Regions from separate parts of the Homo sapiens genome. Here region 1 is linked to region 2. The links are contacts of gene promoters, found by promoter capture Hi-C in blood cells and fetal thymus (Javierre and others, 2016). All regions are on one chromosome and are shown on one strand. The core of a region is centred on a gene start or on the middle of the fragment in contact, and the rest is flanking DNA. Distances in the headings are between cores, read along the strand shown.

What was found. The method cuts DNA at HindIII sites, captures the fragments that hold promoters and counts their contacts. A CHiCAGO score of 5 or more calls a contact.
Region 1: a fragment that was not itself captured here is called in contact with the fragment with the promoter of ADRB2 in region 2 in 2 of 17 cell types (naive B cells and total B cells); the score reaches 5.6 in naive B cells.

Annotation. Positions count from the first base shown.
Region 1 is chr5:148,786,944-148,793,117 of GRCh38, forward strand. No RefSeq gene overlaps it. Among named protein-coding and RNA genes, the nearest start is that of ADRB2, 37 kb to the right of the region's middle. The HindIII fragment of the contact is 2,064 bases long and covers 1,306-3,369 here.
Region 2 is chr5:148,823,370-148,829,571 of GRCh38, forward strand. It overlaps ADRB2 (adrenoceptor beta 2), which reads left to right and starts at 3,242. Exons shown (of 1, transcript NM_000024.6): 1 at 3,242-5,254. The coding sequence starts at 3,463. The coding sequence ends at 4,704. RefSeq lists enhancers at 2,541-2,700, 3,557-4,142 and silencers at 2,971-3,280, 3,371-3,510. The HindIII fragment of the contact is 9,818 bases long and covers 1-6,202 here.

The DNA.
Region 1 (6,174 bases), core at 1,088-3,587, 37 kb before region 2:
CCAAACCACAATGCAATGCTTAATAGCAAAATGGAAATCACCCAAATGCCCCAGCTTAGAGTGAGATAAAGCCGACGATGGTATCCTTAAAGCAATCAACTATTGTGTAGCCATAAAATTGTAAAACTACAAAGGCCATAAGGATACATAAAGATGTACATATAAATTATGCTAAGTGGAAAAAATTAACCCAAGTATTAGAGCTGAGCAAAATCTCTGCTTGCACATTGACAGAAATAAAAAGAAATTATAGGCATGGTTAATAGCTTCAAAAAAGTTCTATTTTTGTGTCTTTGGCAGTGTTCTTGTCTTAGTTCATTCCTGCTGCTATAACGAAAATATCTGAGACTGGGTAATTTATAAGGAACAGAAATTTATTTCTCACAGTTCTGGAGGCTGGAAAGTCTAAGATTAAAGCTCCGGCTTCTGATGACCATTGAGGGCCTTCTTGCTGAGTCTTCACAGGGCAGAAGCTAGCCGGCTAAACGCCTATGCAAAGCCTCTACTTTTAAAAGGGTCTTCATCCCATTAGTGAGGGAGCAGCCCCAGGGCCTAATTATTTCATGAAGTCTCCACCTCTTAATTGCAACACTGGCAGCACCTGAACTTTGCAGGGGACATGTTCAAAACATGGCAGTTCTATAAGCATGTACTTTCTTTAAAAGGAAGACCATCTTCAGTTACTCCCAAATTATCTCCTTTGCTGAATCAGAAAACACCTGTCAGGACTCCAGAGATTCCACAGTTAACTTACTTCTCTTTCTTTACTCTTGGACCCACAATAAGTTATGTCCCTATGCTGAACTGAGAAAGCATTTATAAATAAAAGACAAGTTTAATAAACCTCTTCTTTTCACCAAATAAATCCCAGTTCAGAAATGCCAGCAGATGTCTGAAACAGCAAAGAATAATGCATAAATTTATTGCTTTATTTTACCTGGAATATCCACGGTATCAATAAGTTTTTGTAGTTGAAAGATAATCTGGAAATCTAGACTAGTAATCTTCAATTCTGTTCTACAGAGATGACTCAGGGATCACCTTTGGGATAAGGGGTGACAAGGTGGGAAAGTAAGCACAATTCCTTTGTCTCTCCTCCCACACTCCCCCTGGAGCTCCAAATGCATGAGCAATTCAAGCAGAGCAGCTTTGGTAAAATATTGGCTCCATAGGCTAGTGTTTCCAAACATAACAGCATATAAAAGTCAAATGAGGAGTCTTTAAAACATTGAGTCCTGGGCCGCACACCAGACCTATCGAATCGGCATCTCTAGTAATGGAGCCCAATGATCGGTATCAGTTTAAAGCTTCTCATTTAATTCTGATGTAATCCAAATAAGGGAAACTTTTCTAAAGAAGACTGGAAAGAAGGAAACATATGACCTCTGCTGAAATGTTTCTTATTATGGGAGCTTCTCCCCAACAGAAGGCATTTGTAATTACTAAGAGAGAACACCCTGTCCATGGAGCTGAGCTAGCTCTTTCTGCCCTCTTATGCTACTTAGTCCCAGTGACCTCCCTCATTCCCAGGACAGATGAGGGCGTTTACACCTGGGTGGCTGCCCCCTCACCATAGAGCTTCACCTCTTTTCTGTTACCCAGCTTCATCCACCTTGCCATAAGAGTCAACAAGATTCAAAGTCATTCAATCATAATTCCTTAACTTCTGGCTAGAGTTTTTGACCCAAGCTGATTCAATCAGAGCACTCCTCCACGACTTTTAAAGATTAAAGCTGGAATATAGAATCTTTTCTTTTTGAAGTAATAGAGCTAGACAAATGTAAATCTACGGCCACTAGTGGTCATATCTTCATCGTAGTGGGTCCCATGATGGGCCTCTAGATATGCCACCAGATCAGGACTGATGCATTGACACTGACTACCGCAAATGCCACTAGTACGACTCACAGCTGAATCTTTCTCTGCACAAGGAAGCTGCCTTTCCCTTGGTTTCCCAGCCAGCCACATCCAATAATTGGTTAATATAGAGGTATAAAGACCTGATACCTCTGTTTAAATTTGGGAAAATCTTGAAGAGCTATCGCAGCTCCAGAGATCCCCATGGGATTGGATGAGGCAATTGTTGTGAAGGCACTGTAGCCCAACTTCTCCCTCTTTCCCCTCTTGCTTCCTTCATTCTCTCAGAGCTGGTGTCCACACAGATCTCCATCGGAGAGTTTGTTTTCCCAGGGAACCTAACCTATGTCATTATGGAAGAAACCCATCTGCTGAAGGAGGAAACAGGGCTGAACAGAGACAATAGAAATGAGAGACACCCATATGGAATCCTGACTCTCTTAAATCTTCCAATTGTGCATAACTATACATAGTTCTAAATAGCTCACCATCCTGATAATGTGATGCTCAGGCCTGAATATAATTGTCCAAGGCTGGACCCGCTAGACTAGAGTATGGGGGGATTTTACACTCATGGAACTTCTTAATTTAGCTGAACATTAGATGAGCTTTTTAGAAGCCCCAAAATCCTGTTGGTTTATTGGAGACTGTGTTCAACAAAGACTCCTACATTTCCTTCTGTTGAGCCAGCTACCTCTCCCTGCATCCAAACATCATTTACTCTCCTTGAAGAACTGCCTACACTTTATGGCTGGCAGTATTTCTTAGCCTTTTAAACACATGCACCAAATATGAGCACAGATCTGGAAGAAGCTGAAGGGACGAGGAGGTGGGAGGTTGTTTTTGCAGTTTATAGTATAAAAACAGTAAGTTACATGGAACACAATTTTTCCAAAACTGCACAAACTGTTCAACCATCCTATGTTCAGCCCCCTAACAATTGTAGAAGACATCTCTTTTATGACGACTTGGAGTTCTTATAGTTCTTACTTAGAACTTTTAAGCAGCGCTAATATCTGTGGTGCACATAACAAAAGTTCCAGAGATATTCCCTTTGCCAGTAATGAAGCTAGGTCTGAAAATTATATGCTCTGGTAACAAAGTTCCAACGAGAAAAATTGAAGTGGTAACAAATTTGAGCAAGTTTATTTTCTTTAATTTCTAACCATGAAATGTTTGGATCTGTATGGGACTTTGAAGATCATCTAGTGCCAGAATGGCAAACACTCCCCACTCCCTTTATGTCTCTCCTCCGCCAGAGTCCTTGGCAGACATTACTATGGGACTCAAGATTCTTCTCACAGAGCTTCAATGCTGCTCATTTTCCAAGGATCTTCTTCCCAAGGATCCAAATGATGTTCCATAATTCTCAGCACACCGCATCAGACAGCTACTACCAATTAATTGGTCTGGAAAACTAGACAAACTTTATTTCCTTTTTTTGCCCCAATCACCCTACTCTCCTAAAGGGGTAAAATCATTGACCCAAATTTATGTAATGCTTACTAATCAAGCTTAAACTCCTGATTCCCAAATCAGTGCTCTCTCTCTTTTTCTTCCCCCTCTTCATTGAAATTTCTCCAGTAATTTTAACCATTATATGCCCACAGGCTAGTCAGGTATGAAGAATTCTGGACCCAACTTCAACTGGCATGTCCTCCATTATCGAATGAGTGTGTAGCTGTTGCTCACGCTGCTTATGACATATGTAGGAACATAGAGGCCATCTGAAGGAAGAGAGGTGGTCAAGCTGGGCTCCAGTTCCCACGCGGTTATAGATGCTTCAATAATAATAATAAAATGCTACGACAAATAGAAACATGCCCTGCACCCAATGACTCATGGCTCTAAGCTAATCCCACAATGGCCCCACCTCAGTATTAAAAACACGAGAGAGAGAGAGAAATATAATTCCATGTATGTCCGTCTGTTTGGTAACCAAAACAACCAGCCATAAATGGGAAGTGACTCCCTGATAAATGGTTTTGTGTGAAGTTAAGACCATCTCACTTGCTCTTGAACTGTCACCTGGGGCCTTGAAGAAACAAGTGGCCCTAAGGCTATTTGGGCTCCTTTAAAAATGCTAACCCTCTCCAGTGCCAGCACCATTTTTCTTGTGCTTAGAGGATGGCAGCACTATAGGTGGGATGGAAAATAACCAGCTGGCATGAGGTGCCCTAGGAGCCAGTCTGAAATTACAGGATGATGTGTCAGGATCCAGGAAATGATGGGTGCAATGAGTGGGTCATTCTTTCTCCTTGGCACACGAGAACACACCTAGAACTCTAACCTCCATCCTAGGAGGTCTGAACGCCAAAGTGAAATGAACTTTAGAGACACCAGACACAATCCCACCACTTAGTAGATTATTAGAATGAGGACCAGAGAGGGAAGAGACCTGGCTAAGGTCACACAGCAAGTATGACTGGTGTTTCCAAAAGTAGATTCTTGGAGTAGTAAAAAGAAACTGGAAACATGTAAACATCAGGAGCAATGATAAACTGAAATAATTCATCCAGTGAAACGCCACCTGGTCTTGAAGGAAGAGAGGTGGTCAAGCCAGACTCCAGAGCTGCTCACCACAGGAAGGAGGGGTCCCATCCCCCACCCACATCCACAGCCCTACCCCACCAATGTGTCCCCCTTTTTCCATCTCTGACTCTTACTAAAGCAAAATGCTAGCTACAAAGTGACTCATTTTGGGAAATAGACTTTGTGACTCAGTTCTGCTCTCTAACCACTAGACTAAGCTCCTCATGACTTAAGGAGGTTTCACTACATCTATCAACAAGCTGAATGAGAGGGGATCCCCTTGCATAAAAGACAAATAGGTGGTTTATCCATCAGTGGTAGGTACTATGAAATAAAAGGCAATGTAATATGTAATTAATTCAGTATACATTAAACTAGGATCAATGCCAGACATACTATCCTCTTATATCCTCATAACAACCCCACTGGTAAAGACAATTATTCAATGTATCTAGAAGCTAAGAATCAGAGATGGTAAGTGACTGGAAATGAAGTTTGGGAGAGGTTAGGTGACTTGTCTGAGTTGGCAGAGCCGGGATTCAAGCCAAGTTGTCTTGGTTTCCTCTGCTCCATACCCTTGGTTCCCAAACCCACACCCCACTGTGGCATTTTTCACATGGCCAAGGTGATACAGCAGAGGCAAGCTTCCAGTCTCCTACCTCAAAGGCACAGCGACCTCTGTGATTTAATCACCACAACAGTTCTGTGGAGGGTTGGCAGGGGATTTGTCAGATAAACAACAACAACAAAAACCAACAGATTTCAGAAGCATAAATCCCACGTGGCCTGGAGGCAACCATTTTCTGTGTAGTAGCCTCGGTCTTCTTCATTTGTAATATGGGGATAATTAGAGCATCTACCTGATAGGTTTGCTCTAAGGACGAAGTGAGATAATATAAGTGAAAAGCACTTTGTGTAAACTGCTAAGTGTCATTCAGTGAAAAAAGAATCAGAGACATGCCGAAAGGACAAGCAAAATGCTAACCCAATGAACTGGGTCTAGTATAAAACCATTACTTGCCTCATAACAAGAAATAATAGTGATATATATCTACTTAATGCCTACAGCTTTATAGTTTATATAGAGTTTTTTAGAACACAATTCTTTTCAAATCAATAACCAATAGCCATGATTTGAGTCTTTTCTAAAAATGTATTTGGTATAGCCATTTACATGGTGAAGCTATAATATATATGCTAGGTAAGTTGTGGCAGCCTATGTTAGAAATCGTATATAATTCTAACAAATTTCTTCTGAAGTAGGTGCTGCTCCACAGCTAATGAGAGGAGAAGCTGAGCTTTGAACCTAGGCCTGGCCTGACTTTCAGGAACCTACGGTGCACACTTTTCCAGAACACCACAACTCACTGCACCCTCAGCAGGCCCCAAAGCAGAGTGTTATCCACCCAGGAAACAGCCATGTGCAGCCGAAGAAACAGCCACATGCATCCTGAGGTATGAGACATGAAACCTCCTTCCTAGAACTTGAAAGAGCTGCCACGGCGAGGAGGACATGAGCCTTACTGTGGGTCTCCAGGGTTCACCTCACACGACTTTCTCTGGCCCCTGTGAGCAGCTCCCCATCCTGCTCTGAGTCAGGCTTCTTGTTTCTCATTTTTCTTCCTAACATATTTTCCCACAGTGCTTTTTCTGAACTTCTTCTTTCCTGAAATCCCCAGCTCACCCTGAAGGACCCTACCACCACCTTTCTCCCTAACCCCACTTCCCAATTTTCCTCTATGCCTGTGATTCATTCTGTGAGTTAACTGGGGAGGGTGGCCCTAA
Region 2 (6,202 bases), core at 1,992-4,491:
TTTCTTCATATGTTTGTTGGCTGCATTAATGTCTTCTTTTGAGAAGTGTCTGTTCATATCCTTTGCCCACTTTTTCATGGGGCTGTTTGTTTTTTCTTGTAAATTTGTTTAAGTTCTTTGTAGATTCTGGATATTAGCCCTTTGTCAGATGGATAGATTGCAAAATTTTTCCCCCTTTCTGTAGGTTGCCTGTTCACCCTGATGATAGTTTATTTTGCTGTGCAGAAACTCTTTAGTTTAATTAGATCCCATTTGTCAATTTTGGCTTTTGTTGCCATTGCTTTTGATGTTTTAGTCATGAAGTCTTTGCCCATGCCTATGTCCTGGATGTTATTGCCTAGATTTTCTTCTAGGGTTTTTATGGTTTTAGGTCTTACGTTTAAGTCTTTAATTCATCTTGAGTTAATTCTTGTATAAGGTGTAAGGAAGGGGTCCAGTTTCAGTTTTCTGCATATGGCTAGCCAGTCCTTCTTGATTTAGTATTTGTGGGTTTTAAAAAAGGAGTTTCCCAAAATATTCAGTTAAACTTTTAAGTGACTTACGTGTATATCTAAATACATGATCAGTTAATATTTGTCTTAAAGGGGTTTTCTTTGTTCTTTTCTTATTATAGGAAGGTTAAACAATATGCTTATTTATGCCATAGCTTCACAAACAGGAAGGAGGTTTTAAATGGTTTAGTTCCACAATTTGAGTAGATGCATATTTAAAGAAACGTTGTTGCATAATAAATACTGCCTCTTCCTAAAATGCATCATGCCACAGCCAATTTTGGAAAACACAAATATGAGGTGAGTGTATTTTGAAAACTATGTGAATATAATAGATCTTTAATTCATATTTGTGGATTTTATGGGAAATACTTGTTTTCTAAGGCATCTGTCTTGCAAAAAGTCAGTTTCTGCTATGAAGGATGTTAAAGGGGATATGTAGGTTAAATTCTGTTTCTGAGCTTTGCTTCCAGAGTAAACACCCAACTTACTTTTGCCCTAAAGTATTTTATTGTTCTAGTAGAGAAGACTAACAACATATTCTAAACCACTAAGTAATTTATGTAAACTTCGCTTACAAACTACACTTGTGTGACACTTATATGAGCAAAAGCATTTTCATATTTCTTACTATATCATTCAATTCTTGCTTACCCCAATGGAAGTGACTTTATGCCCCTTTAGAGACAATGGAAATCAGGTACTTCGTGATTTCTCTTAAAAAAAAAAAAAATGAACTAGAAAGCTCCAAGTTTGGTGAATCTGGAACCTGGGTATTCCAGTTCCAGTTGTAGCCCTTCCTCCCTATCCATCACTCCTGTCTGCATGTAATTATGCAATACATTGAAAAGATTAAAAGATGGGTCTTGGACTCAGGCAGACCTGGGTCAAATCCAGATTCTGGCACTGCCCAGCCATTGCCCCTGGGCAAGCCATTTTCCTCTTTGAACCTCATTTGTGAATTAAGCTAAAAATAGTCCCCACCCCCATGGGACTGTGGGAAGGATTAAATAGAATAATGCATGAAAAGCAAATAGCAGAATGGTCCATAAATGTTAACCATTGTTATGTTATTATGTAATCTACAAAGTACGTTTAGTTACACTTCATGAAATACTTTCAGTTTTTCAAAGACACCACTAATACATGGGAAATCAAACCCTGAAAATTAATTTCACTTTAGCAGTAAAGTCACATGCCAGATGGAAAGGATAGTATTTCATGAACAAAGATCTTACTTTTGAGATTTGGTCTTACTTTTTTCTTTTTCTTAAGGGAGAATTATCTTGTGTTTTTTGTTTTGTTTTGTTTTGAGATGGAGTCTTGTTCTGTCACCCAGGCTGGAGCGCAGTGACGTGATCTCGGCTCACTGCAACCTTCACCTCCCGGGTTCAAGAGATTCTCCTGTCTCAGCCTCCCGAGTAGCTGGGACTACAGGTACGTGCCACCACACCTGGCTAATTTTTGTATTTTTAGTAGAGACAAGAGTTACACCATATTGGCCAGGATCTTTTGCTTTCTATAGCTTCAAAATGTTCTTAATGTTAAGACATTCTTAATACTCTGAACCATATGAATTTGCCATTTTGGTAAGTCACAGACGCCAGATGGTGGCAATTTCACATGGCACAACCCGAAAGATTAACAAACTATCCAGCAGATGAAAGGATTTTTTTTAGTTTCATTGGGTTTACTGAAGAAATTGTTTGAATTCTCATTGCATCTCCAGTTCAACAGATAATGAGTGAGTGATGCCACACTCTCAAGAGTTAAAAACAAAACAACAAAAAAATTAAAACAAAAGCACACAACTTTCTCTCTCTGTCCCAAAATACATACTTGCATACCCCCGCTCCAGATAAAATCCAAAGGGTAAAACTGTCTTCATGCCTGCAAATTCCTAAGGAGGGCACCTAAAGTACTTGACAGCGAGTGTGCTGAGGAAATCAGCAGCTGTTGAAGTCACCTCCTGTGCTCTTGCCAAATGTTTGAAAGGGAATACACTGGGTTACCGGGTGTATGTTGGGAGGGGAGCATTATCAGTGCTCGGGTGAGGCAAGTTCGGAGTACCCAGATGGAGACATCCGTGTCTGTGTCGCTCTGGATGCCTCCAAGCCAGCGTGTGTTTACTTTCTGTGTGTGTCACCATGTCTTTGTGCTTCTGGGTGCTTCTGTGTTTGTTTCTGGCCGCGTTTCTGTGTTGGACAGGGGTGACTTTGTGCCGGATGGCTTCTGTGTGAGAGCGCGCGCGAGTGTGCATGTCGGTGAGCTGGGAGGGTGTGTCTCAGTGTCTATGGCTGTGGTTCGGTATAAGTCTGAGCATGTCTGCCAGGGTGTATTTGTGCCTGTATGTGCGTGCCTCGGTGGGCACTCTCGTTTCCTTCCGAATGTGGGGCAGTGCCGGTGTGCTGCCCTCTGCCTTGAGACCTCAAGCCGCGCAGGCGCCCAGGGCAGGCAGGTAGCGGCCACAGAAGAGCCAAAAGCTCCCGGGTTGGCTGGTAAGGACACCACCTCCAGCTTTAGCCCTCTGGGGCCAGCCAGGGTAGCCGGGAAGCAGTGGTGGCCCGCCCTCCAGGGAGCAGTTGGGCCCCGCCCGGGCCAGCCCCAGGAGAAGGAGGGCGAGGGGAGGGGAGGGAAAGGGGAGGAGTGCCTCGCCCCTTCGCGGCTGCCGGCGTGCCATTGGCCGAAAGTTCCCGTACGTCACGGCGAGGGCAGTTCCCCTAAAGTCCTGTGCACATAACGGGCAGAACGCACTGCGAAGCGGCTTCTTCAGAGCACGGGCTGGAACTGGCAGGCACCGCGAGCCCCTAGCACCCGACAAGCTGAGTGTGCAGGACGAGTCCCCACCACACCCACACCACAGCCGCTGAATGAGGCTTCCAGGCGTCCGCTCGCGGCCCGCAGAGCCCCGCCGTGGGTCCGCCCGCTGAGGCGCCCCCAGCCAGTGCGCTCACCTGCCAGACTGCGCGCCATGGGGCAACCCGGGAACGGCAGCGCCTTCTTGCTGGCACCCAATGGAAGCCATGCGCCGGACCACGACGTCACGCAGGAAAGGGACGAGGTGTGGGTGGTGGGCATGGGCATCGTCATGTCTCTCATCGTCCTGGCCATCGTGTTTGGCAATGTGCTGGTCATCACAGCCATTGCCAAGTTCGAGCGTCTGCAGACGGTCACCAACTACTTCATCACTTCACTGGCCTGTGCTGATCTGGTCATGGGCCTGGCAGTGGTGCCCTTTGGGGCCGCCCATATTCTTATGAAAATGTGGACTTTTGGCAACTTCTGGTGCGAGTTTTGGACTTCCATTGATGTGCTGTGCGTCACGGCCAGCATTGAGACCCTGTGCGTGATCGCAGTGGATCGCTACTTTGCCATTACTTCACCTTTCAAGTACCAGAGCCTGCTGACCAAGAATAAGGCCCGGGTGATCATTCTGATGGTGTGGATTGTGTCAGGCCTTACCTCCTTCTTGCCCATTCAGATGCACTGGTACCGGGCCACCCACCAGGAAGCCATCAACTGCTATGCCAATGAGACCTGCTGTGACTTCTTCACGAACCAAGCCTATGCCATTGCCTCTTCCATCGTGTCCTTCTACGTTCCCCTGGTGATCATGGTCTTCGTCTACTCCAGGGTCTTTCAGGAGGCCAAAAGGCAGCTCCAGAAGATTGACAAATCTGAGGGCCGCTTCCATGTCCAGAACCTTAGCCAGGTGGAGCAGGATGGGCGGACGGGGCATGGACTCCGCAGATCTTCCAAGTTCTGCTTGAAGGAGCACAAAGCCCTCAAGACGTTAGGCATCATCATGGGCACTTTCACCCTCTGCTGGCTGCCCTTCTTCATCGTTAACATTGTGCATGTGATCCAGGATAACCTCATCCGTAAGGAAGTTTACATCCTCCTAAATTGGATAGGCTATGTCAATTCTGGTTTCAATCCCCTTATCTACTGCCGGAGCCCAGATTTCAGGATTGCCTTCCAGGAGCTTCTGTGCCTGCGCAGGTCTTCTTTGAAGGCCTATGGGAATGGCTACTCCAGCAACGGCAACACAGGGGAGCAGAGTGGATATCACGTGGAACAGGAGAAAGAAAATAAACTGCTGTGTGAAGACCTCCCAGGCACGGAAGACTTTGTGGGCCATCAAGGTACTGTGCCTAGCGATAACATTGATTCACAAGGGAGGAATTGTAGTACAAATGACTCACTGCTGTAAAGCAGTTTTTCTACTTTTAAAGACCCCCCCCCCCAACAGAACACTAAACAGACTATTTAACTTGAGGGTAATAAACTTAGAATAAAATTGTAAAATTGTATAGAGATATGCAGAAGGAAGGGCATCCTTCTGCCTTTTTTATTTTTTTAAGCTGTAAAAAGAGAGAAAACTTATTTGAGTGATTATTTGTTATTTGTACAGTTCAGTTCCTCTTTGCATGGAATTTGTAAGTTTATGTCTAAAGAGCTTTAGTCCTAGAGGACCTGAGTCTGCTATATTTTCATGACTTTTCCATGTATCTACCTCACTATTCAAGTATTAGGGGTAATATATTGCTGCTGGTAATTTGTATCTGAAGGAGATTTTCCTTCCTACACCCTTGGACTTGAGGATTTTGAGTATCTCGGACCTTTCAGCTGTGAACATGGACTCTTCCCCCACTCCTCTTATTTGCTCACACGGGGTATTTTAGGCAGGGATTTGAGGAGCAGCTTCAGTTGTTTTCCCGAGCAAAGTCTAAAGTTTACAGTAAATAAATTGTTTGACCATGCCTTCATTGCACCTGTTTCTCCAAAACCCCTTGACTGGAGTGCTGTTGCCTCCCCCACTGGAAACCGCAGGTAACTACTTGTAATTACTGCCCATGACTTAATGTAGAATGATACAAGAATGACATGCACAGATTGCTTAACCCTTTCATTTGCCTTTGAGTCTGCTGCTGCAAAGCTGCATCTCTCCTGACACTTGTGCCCCAAATCAGTTCTGCCTGCTCTTAGTATAGCTCAACTCTCCCTATGGTTATTGTTCTGTGTTGTTACCTCAGAAACACTGACTCACAGAAGCGGAGTTAAGGGGATATGTTTTTTTCTCTCCACGTGCACCCACCACCCACCTTCCAGTTCTACTTGTTTCAAAACTGTTTATATTTCTGTCTTGGCCATGTGTTACAGTGGAGCTCTTTGTACTGCATCAGGGCTTGGCATTTTAGGGATAAGGAAGATGTTCTTATGAGGAAGCTACTCAGACATGGCCCCGTAATTCTGAGGGAAAATTCAAAAGGCATTGGTCATGGGGAGAAAAGCTGGAGAACACATAACTGATGGATACCTCATGAACTAGAAACAGAATTTTAACCCCTTTTCCTTCTTTCCTTTGGTCCCTGTTTTCTTCTCCCACTGACTCTCCTCGATTCAGTGTAAACCAAGGTTCTGAGTCTTAGCACTGTTAGCATTTTGGACCAGATAACTCTTTGTTATGGGGGCTGCATCATTGTATGTGTAGCACCTCTGGCCTCTGTTCATTAGATGCCAATAGCACCCCCTGCTTATAACAAGCAAAAATGTTTCCAGACATTGCAAAAGAGCCCCTGAGGTGCGAATTAGCCCCTGGTTGAGAGTCACTGGTAGAAACTGTAAAAATCTCAGCAGATACATACATTCTTTCTAATGCAAGCGCTTGATTGTGCAGAGCCTTAGAGAGGGATTTTCACAGTTCACCT